4 separate regions of the Homo sapiens genome follow, and all the other regions are linked to region 1. The links are contacts of gene promoters, found by promoter capture Hi-C in blood cells and fetal thymus (Javierre and others, 2016). All regions are on one chromosome and are shown on one strand. Each heading gives the region's core, a stretch centred on a gene start or on the middle of the fragment in contact. The rest is flanking DNA. Distances are from core to core; before and after follow the strand shown.

The links. Contacts are between HindIII fragments. The CHiCAGO score rates a contact against its expected background, and 5 or more counts as called.
Region 2: a contact is called between a fragment that was not itself captured here and the fragment with the promoter of TAF7 in region 1, in 4 of 17 cell types (M1 macrophages, M2 macrophages, M0 macrophages and 1 more). The highest score is 12.7, in M1 macrophages.
Region 3: a fragment that was not itself captured here is called in contact with the fragment with the promoter of TAF7 in region 1 in 4 of 17 cell types (M2 macrophages, M1 macrophages, megakaryocytes and 1 more); the score reaches 12.0 in M2 macrophages.
Region 4: a contact is called between a fragment that was not itself captured here and the fragment with the promoter of TAF7 in region 1, in 2 of 17 cell types (M1 macrophages and M0 macrophages). The highest score is 8.8, in M1 macrophages.

Annotation. Positions count from the first base shown.
Region 1 is chr5:141,319,387-141,322,671 of GRCh38, reverse strand. TAF7 (TATA-box binding protein associated factor 7) reads left to right here and starts at 1,888. Exons shown (of 1, transcript NM_005642.3): 1 at 1,888-3,285. The coding sequence starts at 2,628. RefSeq lists enhancers at 1,360-1,509, 1,520-1,579, 2,160-2,359. The HindIII fragment of the contact is 5,333 bases long and covers 1-2,856 here.
Region 2 is chr5:140,753,066-140,756,249 of GRCh38, reverse strand. The region is part of intron 3 of LOC105378198 (a long non-coding RNA gene); the gene reads right to left. Among named protein-coding and RNA genes, the nearest start is that of PCDHA1, 31 kb to the left of the region's middle. The HindIII fragment of the contact is 5,694 bases long and covers 1-3,184 here.
Region 3 is chr5:140,773,024-140,776,366 of GRCh38, reverse strand. No RefSeq gene overlaps it. Among named protein-coding and RNA genes, the nearest start is that of PCDHA1, 11 kb to the left of the region's middle. The HindIII fragment of the contact is 5,471 bases long and covers 1-3,343 here.
Region 4 is chr5:140,735,628-140,738,771 of GRCh38, reverse strand. All of the region lies in intron 3 of LOC105378198 (a long non-coding RNA gene), which reads right to left. Among named protein-coding and RNA genes, the nearest start is that of ZMAT2, 37 kb to the right of the region's middle. The HindIII fragment of the contact is 5,793 bases long and covers 1-3,144 here.

The DNA.
Region 1 (3,285 bases), core at 639-3,138:
ATTTTCATGTATAATGACCTCACATTGTATATGGTTAAACAAAACACAGCCAGGCGAGGTGGCTCAAGCCTGTAACAGAAAAAACTTCATCTTTGAAAAAGAGGAAATAGATCATTCTGGAAATTACAAGTAAGTCAGCTAACATTCTTCAACACATTATAAGCAAAGAGAAATAATTTACCGTTATCTGGAAGGGCATACTTTCTCTTTTAAAATTAACATTAAAAACCAAACTAACGTCAGGTCATTTTAATTTCCTCCCACAACAGTATCTCATTCTAGCTAAACCACATTCACACACACTATTAGTAAACCTCCCCACCTCATAACAATTAGAATTGTCCTTGACTAGAAAGGAAATGTATGTAAAGTGGCTCTATCTCATTTTAAAATGACAAAGAATGTATTTTCTCTCAGAAATCACTACAGGATTTGAGACTATGATCTTTCTAGACAGATAAGTTTTTTCATTCAATTAGCAAATATTTTTTGTGTATCTCCCACATTCTGGTACTAGGCACTGGGACACAATGACCAGGATAGAAGAAGATCACTATCATGGAGCTTTCAATCATACAAGAATAAAGTGAATTTTGGAAATGTTAATTACATCTTAAGAGAATTCTCTTAAATTTAGGGGCAATTGTTAATATTTTAGAGGATAGAAATGAAATATTAATGGCCTTGATGCTCTCCCAGATATTTTAAAAATAAATGGAAATAAATAGAAATAAGTACCAACTGTTACCCAGTTATGTTAAAATACTAAAAATATGTGTTGATGAATACCTGACTATTGATAGAAAAGACAAGCAGAAAACAGCAAAATAGTAGAGGTGGAGTTAAAAAAAATGTCAAAGTAATTTAAAATTACTTGTACATGAGAGACAGGAAACAATACTTCAATTATATCTACTTTAACCAGATGCTCAGTCTATCAGACAATTCTGTCCAAAAGAACACTTCCTTCTCTGTTTACATTTACATCTAAATCAAGCACATAAAAAGGAATCACCCTTGTTTCCCCAGAAGTATTATAGAACACAAGTAAAACCAGAGGCACAATTCCCCTACAGGGAATTATATTTAAAAATACAGACTTTGGGCCATGCGCGCTGGCTCACACCTATAATCCTAGTACTTTGGGAGGCCAAGACAGGCAGATCACCTCAGGTCAGGAGTTCGAGACCAGCCTGGCCAACATGGTGAAACCCCTTCTCTACTAAAAATACAAAACTTAGGTGGGGTAGTGGAACGTGCCTGTAATCCCAACTACTTAAGAGGCTGAAGCAGGAGAATCGCTTGAACCCCAGAGGTGGAGGTTGCAGTCAGCCAATATTGTGCCACTGCACTCTAGCCTGGGTGACAGCCTGAGACTCCATCTCCAAAACAAACAAACAAACATATATATAGAGAGAGACTTATATAGTAAGCTGCATGTCCTCCTCACTCCATTGATTTGGGTACTTTGAAATCCATTGTATAGTAGCTACACATTCTTGTATTGGCACCAGATAGGCTAGACTCTAGGGAACATCCGAGATGTTTCCAGAAGCAAAGACGCTTACTGCAAGGCGTCCCCCATCTCCCGGAATCACCCGGAAGTCTAGAAGCCATCCGGCCCCACAGCGATCCCGTAAAAGTGCTGGCTTAGCGGGGGACGAATCTGTGTCTTTCTTGGAACTTCCAAGCTCTAAATAGTTTGAAACCAACAGCTCTTCCGAAACACTGTCATTTCCATCCCGGAAAAACAAGTTCTCGCGAAAAGATGAGTTTCACGCTGGGCAGCGTAATTGCGCTATTGCGCCTGCGCTAGCTGGGGCTCCGCCCTTCCGCCCGGAGGGGCTGTCACTCACAGCCGCCTCCCGCCCCGCGTCGCGACGTAGCACTTCCGTTTTTGCTGGGTAGGCGACCCGGACGGAGGGCCGGCGAGGTGCGGGGTCTGGTGATGCGAGCTGCGCCTCTCGGCAAGATTTCGCGCTGCCCATCCCGGGCCCTTTCATCAGTAATCGGTAGTGGATCACTCTGCCAAGCGGCAGGAAGAATTAAGGAAACGACAAGGAGACGCTCGGCTCTCTCCCGCTTGGCTCCTTGCGGCCTCCTCTTCCCTTCGCTCCGGCCCGGTGAAACTGAACTTATAATCGTCACTGGATTGTAAGTACCCGAGGCGAAGAGAGCTCGCTGAGCCCTGATTTTTTGAGTGTCTTTGTTCCGGGAGAGTTTGTGAGTTGAAAGTATCTCTGCTGGGCTTTCTGGGCCGAAAACCGTTCCGGGGGAGCCGCCATTTGCTTTCCTGTTCCCTAGCTAGCTAGCTAGCTCTCTCCGCGTTGTCCGGCAGCGGCACCTAGAGGTTGGGACTTGGCATTGCATCTGATTTAATGAACTTAAGTCTGTGAATAAGCCTTTGTGTTAACGACTGGTATTCGGTCACAGCATATTTAGAGAAAAGACTTGGAGCTTAAATAAAAACTAAGGCAAAATAGACGCTTAGCTGCTGATCTACAGAGAACTTCTTGTAATTAAAAGATTTCAATTCATAGCAAACTGGTGTTTTAAACTATTGCAGTAGCTGGAACTTTTTAGTGTAACCAGCATTTATTGGAGAAGTGAATCACAAGGAAATAAAGATGAGTAAAAGCAAAGATGATGCTCCTCACGAACTGGAGAGCCAGTTTATCTTACGTCTGCCTCCAGAATATGCCTCTACTGTGAGAAGGGCAGTACAGTCTGGTCATGTCAACCTCAAGGACAGACTGACAATTGAGTTACATCCTGATGGGCGTCATGGAATCGTCAGAGTGGACCGTGTTCCATTGGCCTCAAAATTAGTAGACCTGCCCTGTGTTATGGAAAGCTTGAAAACCATTGATAAAAAAACTTTTTACAAGACAGCTGATATCTGTCAGATGCTTGTATCCACAGTTGATGGTGATCTCTATCCTCCTGTGGAGGAGCCAGTTGCTAGCACTGATCCTAAAGCAAGCAAGAAAAAGGATAAGGACAAAGAGAAAAAGTTTATCTGGAACCACGGAATTACTCTGCCTCTAAAGAATGTCAGGAAGAGAAGGTTCCGGAAGACAGCAAAGAAGAAATATATTGAATCTCCAGATGTTGAAAAAGAAGTGAAACGATTGCTGAGTACAGATGCTGAAGCTGTTAGTACTCGGTGGGAAATAATTGCCGAAGATGAAACAAAGGAGGCAGAAAATCAAGGCCTGGATATCTCTTCTCCAGGAATGTCTGGTCACAGGCAGGGCCATGACTCATTAGAACATGATGAGCTTC
Region 2 (3,184 bases), core at 196-2,695, 570 kb after region 1:
TATGCCAAAGCACATTTTATCTTCACCTTAATGAATATAATTTCATGCCACTGCACTTCAGCCTGGGCGACAGAGCAAGACTCTGTCTCAAAAAAAAAAAAAAAAAAGAATTTCCATGCAAATGGAGACTGTAAGAGAGCAAGAATAGCTGTACTTACATCAGATAAAATAAACTTTAAGTCAAAAACTCTAAAAAGAGACAATGAAAGTCATTATATAATAATAAAAGTTCAATTCAGCAAGAGGATATAACAATTGTAAATACAAAAGCATCCAATATTGGAACACCTAAATATATAAAGCGAATATTAATAGATCTAAAGGGAGAACAAGACTGCAATACAATGATATTAGGGGGATTTGCTATCCATTTTCAGCAATGGACAGGTCATCCAGACAGAAAATCAACAAAGAAACTTCAGATTTAAACTGCACTGTAGACCAAATGGACCTAGCAGACATTTACAGAACATTCCATCCAACAGCTGCAGAATACACATTCTTCTCAACTGTACATAAAATATTTAACAGAATAGATAATATGTTAGGCCACAAAACAAGCCTTGACAAATTTTAGATTGAAATCATATCAATTGTCTCTTCTGACCACAATGATATAAAACTAAAAATCAATAACAGAAGGAACTTCAGAAACTTTATACATTCATAGAGAGTAAATATGCTCCTGAAAAACCAATGAGTCAATGAAGAAATTAAAAGACATTTAAATATCCCTTTTGGACAAATAGAAATGGAAACACAATGCACCAAAACTTATGGGATACAGCAAAAGCAGTTCTCAGAGAAAAGTTTATAGCTATAAACACCTACATTCAAAAAGAAGAAAGGTTTCAAATAAAGAATCCAACATTATACCTCAAGGAACTGGAAATACAAGAACAAACTAAATCTAAAATTAGGAGAAGGAAGTAATAAAGGTCATAATTTAGGTGAGATGAGGTGGCTCACGCCTGTAATCCCAGCACTTTGGGAGGCTGAGGTATATGGATGACTTGAGCACAGGAGTTCAAGACCAGCCTGGGCAACATGGTGAAACACCATCTCTTCCAAAAATGAAAAAAAAAAATAGCCAGGCGTGGTGGCAGGTGCCTGTGGTTTCAGCTGCTCAAGAGGCTGAGGTGGGAGGAACTCTTGAGCCTGGGTAGTAGACGTTGCAGTGAGCCAACATCACACCACTGCATTCCAGCCTGGGTGACAGAGTGAGGCCTCGTCTAAAAAATATCAGCATATAAATAAATGAAATAGAGGCTTGAAAAAAATACAAAAGAGCAACAAAATTAAGAGTTGGTGTTTTGAGAAAAAATAAAACCAGCCAACAGTTAGCTAAACTACCTAAGGAAAATAGAGAGAAGACAAACAAAACAATAATGAAAAAGGAGACATTATAACTGATACCACAGAAATAAAAAGGATCATAAGACATTATTATACAATTTTACACCAACAAATGGAATAACCTAGAAGAAACAGATAAATTCCTGGACACATACAACCTACTAAGATTGAATTATGAAGTTATAAAAAAATTTCAAGAGACCAATAATGAGTAAGGACATCGAATCAGTAATAAAAAGTCTCCCATCAAAGAAAAGCCCAATACCTGGTAGTTTCACTACTGAATTCTACCAACATTTAAAGAAGAATAAAAACCGGGCGCGGCGGCTCATGCCTGTAATCCCAGCACTTTGGGAGTCCAAGGCGGGTGGATCACGAGGTCAGGAAATCGAGACCATCCTGGCTAACACGGTGAGATCCCGTCTCTACTAAAAATACAAAAAATTAGCCGGGCGTGATGGCGGGCGCCTGTAGTCCCCGCTACTCGGGAGGCTGAGGCAGGAGAACGGCGTGAACCTGGGAGGCTGAGCTTGCAGTGAGCCGAGATCGCACCACTGCACTCCAGCCTGGGAGATAGTGCAAGACTCTGTCCCAAAAAAAAAAAAAAAAAAAAAGAAGAAGAATACCAATTATTCTCAAAATATTTCAAAATACTAAAGAGGAGAGAATACATTCAAACTCATTCTGCGAGGCCAGCATTACTCCGATATCAAACCTGAAAAAAAGCCCCCAATTACTCCAGGGGAAGGAGCAAGTTGAACTGGAAAGGAGCAACCTGCCCTCACCACATGCCTCTGGAATCTGGGCAGGAGGAGACCCCTCAACCACCATGGACACTTGAGTTGGCAGGGAGAGCTGCTTAGAGAAGTGGTAGGGGAAGCACTCCAGCTGGTGCAGAGCCCAGAGGGTTTGTTGTGGTAATGTCTGTAGTGAAGCATAATCAGGGATGCCCATCCCCCTAGGCTTGATTTGCTCCCATAAGAGACTTTAGCCCTAGGGGAACTGTTGGACATGAGCTCTCAGGGCAGTCTTGCCCACCAAATGAGGCCAGTCTGACGTGAGCACCCCTTTGCCTGCTGACCTCTCGCAGGGCCCCAGCCTGGCTGCACCTGCTTGCAATGCAGCCTCGAGTGCCCTCGGGGGGCTGCATCATAGCTCCTGCGCTGGCAGACTGCACCAGCCCACCCACTCCCTCCCCTCACTCCAGGCCCACAACCACCCCTATATTGCTGGAGTATATGTGCATGGGTGGATTTTACCTTCCCTGTCCTACCAGCATGTGTGTGCCCATGAACCCTCTGCTGCCACTGCTGCTGGGGTAAGTGCAGTCCACTCCACCACCTCCCCCATCATACTTCCACTGTAGTCAGAGTGCAGCCCAGCCACCACCAGCACCCTGCCCCAGCACCAACATTGTCACCAGAGTGAAACTAGGCAGAGAAGAGTGGACCCTCCACTGCCCTAAGTGACCACCTCCACCTACATGAAAACACACAGAAGGTGCACACAGTCCTGCACCTGCCAGCACCTTGCCCCCATGCTAACACCACCACCAGCAAACCACACACGCAGTCAGTCACCAGCAGGGACCCCAACCCCTGAGCCATGCTGTCTCTGCCACTGTTATGAATGCCCGAACACCCATGAGCACCAGGCTACAGCCAATAAGCATGTACCCTGCCATGCTGCTTCTGGCACATGCAAATGAGGATGGACCCCGCTGCCACTGCCTTATGAAATGCTTTGACTGTCACCACCTGTAGGAATGCTGAAACCAAAGATGCAGGAGCACCTCAGTCTACCCAGTGCAGTGAGTTCCTAACCTCAA
Region 3 (3,343 bases), core at 456-2,955, 550 kb after region 1:
CCATCATCACTGCAGCTGCCTGCTGTCTAAGCCATCTGAGCTTCCAGGGGGAGAGATGGCAGCCATCACTGCGGCTGTCAGCTGCCTAAGACAACTGAGCTCCCTGAGGTGGGGGCGGCCCTCATCACTGTGGTTGCTAGCTGCCTAAGAAAACTGAGCTCCCTGCGGGAGGGAAGGCAAACATTACTCCAGCTGCTAGCTAAGTACACTGCTACCTGACACTGAACTGGGGGTAGCGGGGAGGGTGGCAGCCATCACTATAGCTCTAGACCACATTTTTCCCCTCCTGGAGCCGGAGAGACAGGACAGCTTGGTTCCAAGAGGTAATCCCCACAGTGCAGTATACAGGCTGTGGCTGAAAAATGCTGAAAACTCAAAAGGCCAGAGTGCCTCTTCTCCAAATGATCACAACACTTCTCCAGCAAGTGCACAGAACTGGACAGAGGTACCATCCTGATACCAAAACCTGGCAGAGATACAACAAAAAAGGAAAACTTCAGGCCAGTATCCCTGATGAACACTGATGCAAAAATCCTCAATAAAATACTGTCAAACTGAATCCAGCAGCACATCAAAAAGTTTATCCACCATGATCAAGTCTGCTTCATCCCTGGGATGCAAGGCTGGTTCAACATACGCAAATTAATAAACATAATTCATCACATAAACGGAACTAATGACAAAAACCACAAGATTATCTCAAAAGATGCCGAAAAAGCCTTTGATAAAATTCAACATCCTTTCATGTTAAAAACAATCAATAAACTAGGTATTGATGGAACATATCTCAAAATAGTAAGAGCCATTTACGACAAACCCATAGCCAATATCATACAGAATGGGCAAAACCCAGAAGCACTTCCCTTGAAAAGCAGCACAAGACAAAGATGCCCTCTCTCACCACTCCTATTCAACATAGTATTGGAAGTTCTGGCCAGGGCAATCAGGCAAGAGAAAGAAATAACGGGTATTCAAATAGGAAAAGAGGAAGTCAAATTGCCTCTGTTTGCAGACAACATGATCCTATATCTAGAAAAACCCATTGTCTCAGCCCAAAAGCTCCTTAAGCTGATAAGCAACTTCAGCAAAGTCTCAGGACACAAAATCAATGTGCAAAAATCACAAGCATTCCTGTACACCAACAATAGACAAGCAGAGAGCCAAATCATGAATGAACTCCCATTCACAATTGCTACAAAGAGAATAAAATACCTAGGAATACAGCTAACAAAAGATGTGAAGGACCTCGTCAAGGAGAACTACAAACCACTGCTCAAGGAAATAAGATAGGACACAACAAATGGAAAAACATTCCATCCTCATGAATAGGAATAATCAATATCATGAAAATGGCCACACCGCCCAAAGTAATTTATAGAGTCAATGTTATTTCCATCAAACTACCATTGACATTCTTCACAGAATTAGAAAAAATGACTTTAAAATTCGTATGGAACAAAAAAAGAGCCCATATAGCCAAGACAATTCTAAGCAAAAAGAACAAAGCTGGAGGCATCACGCTACCTGACTTCAAACTATACTACAAGGCTACAGTAACCAAAACAGCATGGTACTGGTACCAAAACAGACACATAGACCAATGGAACAGAATAGAGATCTCAGAAATAAGACCACACATTTACAACCATCTGACCTTTAACAAACTTGACAAAAACAAGCAATTGGAAAAGAATTCCCTACTTAATTAATAGTGCTGGGAAAACTGGCTGGTCATATGCAGAAAATTGAAACTGGACCCCTTCCTTACACCTTATATAAAAATTAACTCAATATGGATTAAAGACTTAAATATAAAACCCAAAACCATAAAAACCCTAGAAGAAAATATAAGCAACACCATTCAGGACATAGGCATGAGCAAAGATTTTATGATGAAATCACCAAAAGCAATTGCAACAGAAGCAAAAATTGATAAATGAGGTCTAGTTAAACTAAATACCTTCTGCACAGCAAAAGAAACTATCATCAGAGTGAACAGGCAACCTATAAAATGGGAGAAAATTTTTGCAATCTACCCATCTGACAAAGGTCTAATATCCAGAATTTACAAGGAACTTAAACAAATTTACAAGGAAAAAATACAAACAACCCCATCAAAAAGTGGGCAAAGGACATGAACAGACACTTCTCAAAAGAAGACATTTATGCAGCCAACAAACATGTGAAAAAAAGCTCAACATCACTGATCACTAGAGAAATGCAAATCAAAACCACAGTGATATACCATCTCACACCAGTCAGAATGGTGATTATTAAAAAGTCAAGAAACAATAGATGCTGGTGAGGTTGTGGAGAAATAGGAATGTTTTTATGTTGTTGGTGAGAATGTAAATTAATTCAACCATTTTGGAAAACAGTGTGGCAATTCCTCAAAGATCTAGAACCAGAAATACCATTTGACCCAGCAATCCCATTACTGAGTATATACTCAAAGGAATGTAAATCATTCTATTATAAGGATACAAGCACACGTATGTTTATTGCAGCACTATTCACAATAGCAAAGACATGGAATCAACCCAAATGCCCATCAATGATAGACTGGATAAAGGAAATGTAGTACATATACACCATGGAATACTATGCAGCCATAAAAAAGACTGAGGTCATGTCCCTTGCAGGGACATGGATGAAGCTGGAGGCCATCATCCTCAGCAAACTAACACAGGAACAGAAAACCAAACACCACTTGTTCTCACTCATAAGTGGGAGCTGAACAATGAGAACACATGGGCACAGGGAGGGGAACAACACATACCTGGGCCTGTCATGGGAGTGGGGGAGGAAGAGCATCAGGAAAAATAGCTAATGCATGTGGGGCTTAATACCTAGGTGATAGGTGCAGCAAACCACCATGGCACACATTTTCCTATATAACAAACCTGCACATTCTGCACATGTATCGTGGAGCTTAAAATAAAACAAAATAAAATAAATTTTAAAAGTGTCTTGAACTTGATGGAGATTTTGTTGAGAAATAAAATTGATAATTTTTATTTTGATCTTTTAATTCTATTTTCCATGAACTTTTGGAAGTCCCCACATAGGAAAGTAATCCATCTAAGTAGAAGGAATATTTCTCAATGTATGCTATGAAGACAGTATCACCCTGATGCCAAAACCAAAGACAATACAAAAATAAAAAGAAAACACAGAGTGATAACTTTTATAAATTTAGATTTCAACAATTTTTAAAATACTAGCAAATAAAATTTTACAATGAGTAAAAAGAATTATACACCATGATCAAGTGGGCTTTTTTCATATATTCAATATTTGAAAATCTGTCATTATAATCTACCATATTAAAGGGCTAAAGAAG
Region 4 (3,144 bases), core at 570-3,069, 580 kb after region 1:
GCAACAGAGTAAGACTTTGTCTCAAAAAAGAAAAAAAAAAGTTAATTATTCTGCAGAACTTGGAGGTGATCCCAATGGTACCTCTGAGAAGCCACCCTGTCATTCTAAAAAGGATGAATACGATTAAGAAACATGTTCACCAGCCTGGGCAACATGGTGAAACTTTGTCTCTACTGATACAAAAATTAGCCGGGAGTGGTGGTGTGCACCTGTAATCCCACGAAACTGAGGCATGAGAATCACTTGAACCTGGGAGACAGAGGTTGCAGTGAGCTGAGATCGCACCACTGTACTCCAGCCTGGGCAGCAGAGTGAGACTCTGTCTCAAAAAAAAAAAAAAAGAGAGAGAGAGAGAAAGAAAGAAATATATTCAGAGGAATCCTATGAAGAAATAGAAAGTAAAACATCTAGTATTTCATCATTAATAGGTAATCATAGAGAAGAATAAAAAGAAGAATAAGGAAGGATATGAGGAGAATTGTTACTAAAGGAAATCTATGTTGTATTTTACTAATTGTTCATTTTGGGGCTTTTTTATTTTTATTTTTTTGTAGAGACGAGGTCTCACTATGTCACCCAAGATGGTCTCAAACTTCTGGCCTCAAGTGATCCTCCTACCTCGGCCTCCCAAAATGCTGGGATTATAGGTGTGAGCCACTGCACCTGGCCTCCTGTTCATTTGGATTTTCACTTCTCTGTTTTATTCTTCGTGCCTTCATCTTACTTTAATATTTTCTAAAATTCTATTTTGAGTTAATACTATGTTTTTTAGTGCATCTCTTTGTATAACATGTTAGCGGTTGCTCTGTCCACAACTTATCAAAGTCTATTCATTTTTTTCCGTCTAATTTCTCTCTGTTGTTTAGGTTGGATAATTTTTATTATTCTATCTTCTAGTTCACTTGTTATTTTTTCTGCCTCCTCCATTATGCTGCTGAACCCACCCACCCCATCCACTGAGGTTTTTATTTCAGTTATTATATTTTTCAGTTCTAAAATTTCCATTTAGTTCTTCTTTTATCATCTATTTCTTTGCTTATGCATTCTATTTTTCATTTATTCCAAGAATGTTTATAATTGCTTATTGAAGCATTTTTACAATGGCTAATTTAAAATTTCTGTCAGATAATTCTAATATCTCTGTCATCACAATGTTGGCATCTGTTGATTGTCATTTTTTCATTCTGTTTGAGATCTTCTGGTATGATAAGTAACTTTTCATTAAAACCTGGATATGTTCATATTATATTCCGCTACTCTGGATCCTATTTAAACCTTCTGTTTTAGTGGGATTTCTCTGATACCATTTAGGCAGAAGGGGGAACAGAGAAAGAAGGAGATGTCACCTAATTACTGCCAGGTGCAGGCAGAAGTCCAGGTTCCCCACAGAGCCTCCATTGCCACCTGAAGAAGGGAGCTCATTGTTACTGCTGGGTAAGCATGGAAGTTCTGGCTCCCCTGACACCACAGTGAGGATGGCCACATTACCACTGGGTAGAGGTCTAAGTCCAGTCTTCTCATATAATCCCCCCTGCTGGGAAGGGAAGTATTAACAAAAGATCATGAGATTTGAGGAAGAAGAAAAAAGAGAGTTTTATTTCCTATAAATGGTTACAATCTGCAGGTTGGGAAATGAAACATCCAGCCAAAATGAAAAGCATCTGCTTCAGAGACAAAAGGGAGAAGCTGGGACTTATGCCCAACAAGATGAGCTATATGTACATATTCAGTAGCTTATAGGAGAATCTATGAATATTTGAGAAAACCCTAATGCATGCAAAGAGAATAAACATATATGTTACATATGTTCCATGTTCATTTTGGGGTGGGGATTTAATAGTAAAGTGAAGTGGCACGTGGCTGTTTATATATAACAAGGTGAAACAGAACACAAAGGCATCTTGTGCACAGCCTCTGTGGACTAGGTGCAATCAGTCTGTGGTCGGTGGTCAGTATAACAATGGAATGTTTAATAAGGCTGGTCAGTAGTCATGGTGAAACCACGATAAAAGAGGGGAGGTCAGCCATGACATCAAGAGGTCTCTTGAGGTTGAGGGAGAAATCTTCCAGACAGTTTTTTAGGAACTCGTTTCTGTTTAATTGTAGGAAGGAAAGTTTTGAGGCAGTTAACAAGGTAGGGGAGTGTTGAGGTGTGACTGACCTCTTGCCTTGCCAAAGCCATAGAATGCAGTTTTCAAAGTTTCTGGGGTCTCTTTTGCAACAAGAAGTCCATTCTGTTTCACCTAGGGGCTTAGGGACTTTAGTTTTATTTCACACTTTCCAGCTTTAGGCTGAAATCTGCCATAGGCAGCATTGATGGCTAAATTTTCTAACATGTCCCATGTCGTTCCCAGGATGGTGTGGATACCTGCCCCAGGTCTATCTAGTCTGTCAGTGGGACTCATGTGGCTAGGAGACTTACAACCAGTTGAATATTTTAGGCCAGGCAAGAAGGAGGCAGACAGCTATTAAGACCCTTTGAACCTTTGAGACTAGAAAAACAGTAACAACAGAAAAGTTGAGAAGGTAAGTTTATGTTTATGTTGTCTGTCATTTCTATGCATTGTGCTACCATAACTTTGGTTTTAGTGACAGACTTGAAGTAGTTGGTTATAGATCTTATAAGTACTTTGACTATCAAAAATAGGAACAAGATAGTGATATGATAATGACAAGGGTTTGTAAGATGGATTGGAAGTAATTTCTAATACTGCAATGAGTCAGCTAAAAACGTTATTAAGGGGATCTGTGGTTTGTACCTCCTGTAACCAGGCAGCCTGTTGGGTGATCTTACCTACATGGGTTGTTAAATCTCCTATAATGTTGATATAAGTGCAACAAGTGGTGTGGGCTATCATGCAAATTCCCCCTTGTTTAGCAATGAGAAAACCTGGTGCAATTTGATTGTCTAAAACCACTTGAGCGAGAGAATTTAAGGACTTCTACTGTGTCATAATACTTATTGCAGCATTTTCAGCAATTTGTCCTATGGTGGCCGGCATTTTTTTTTATCGTATCTCTGTTAGTGTATACTCCGTAGCTGAGAAAAATTACACCCCAAAAACTATGCTACCACATATCCTGATATCCACTTGGTAGCTCTCTTTTAGCTTACCGGAAAGCAAGATTTTCTTTATGATTGAG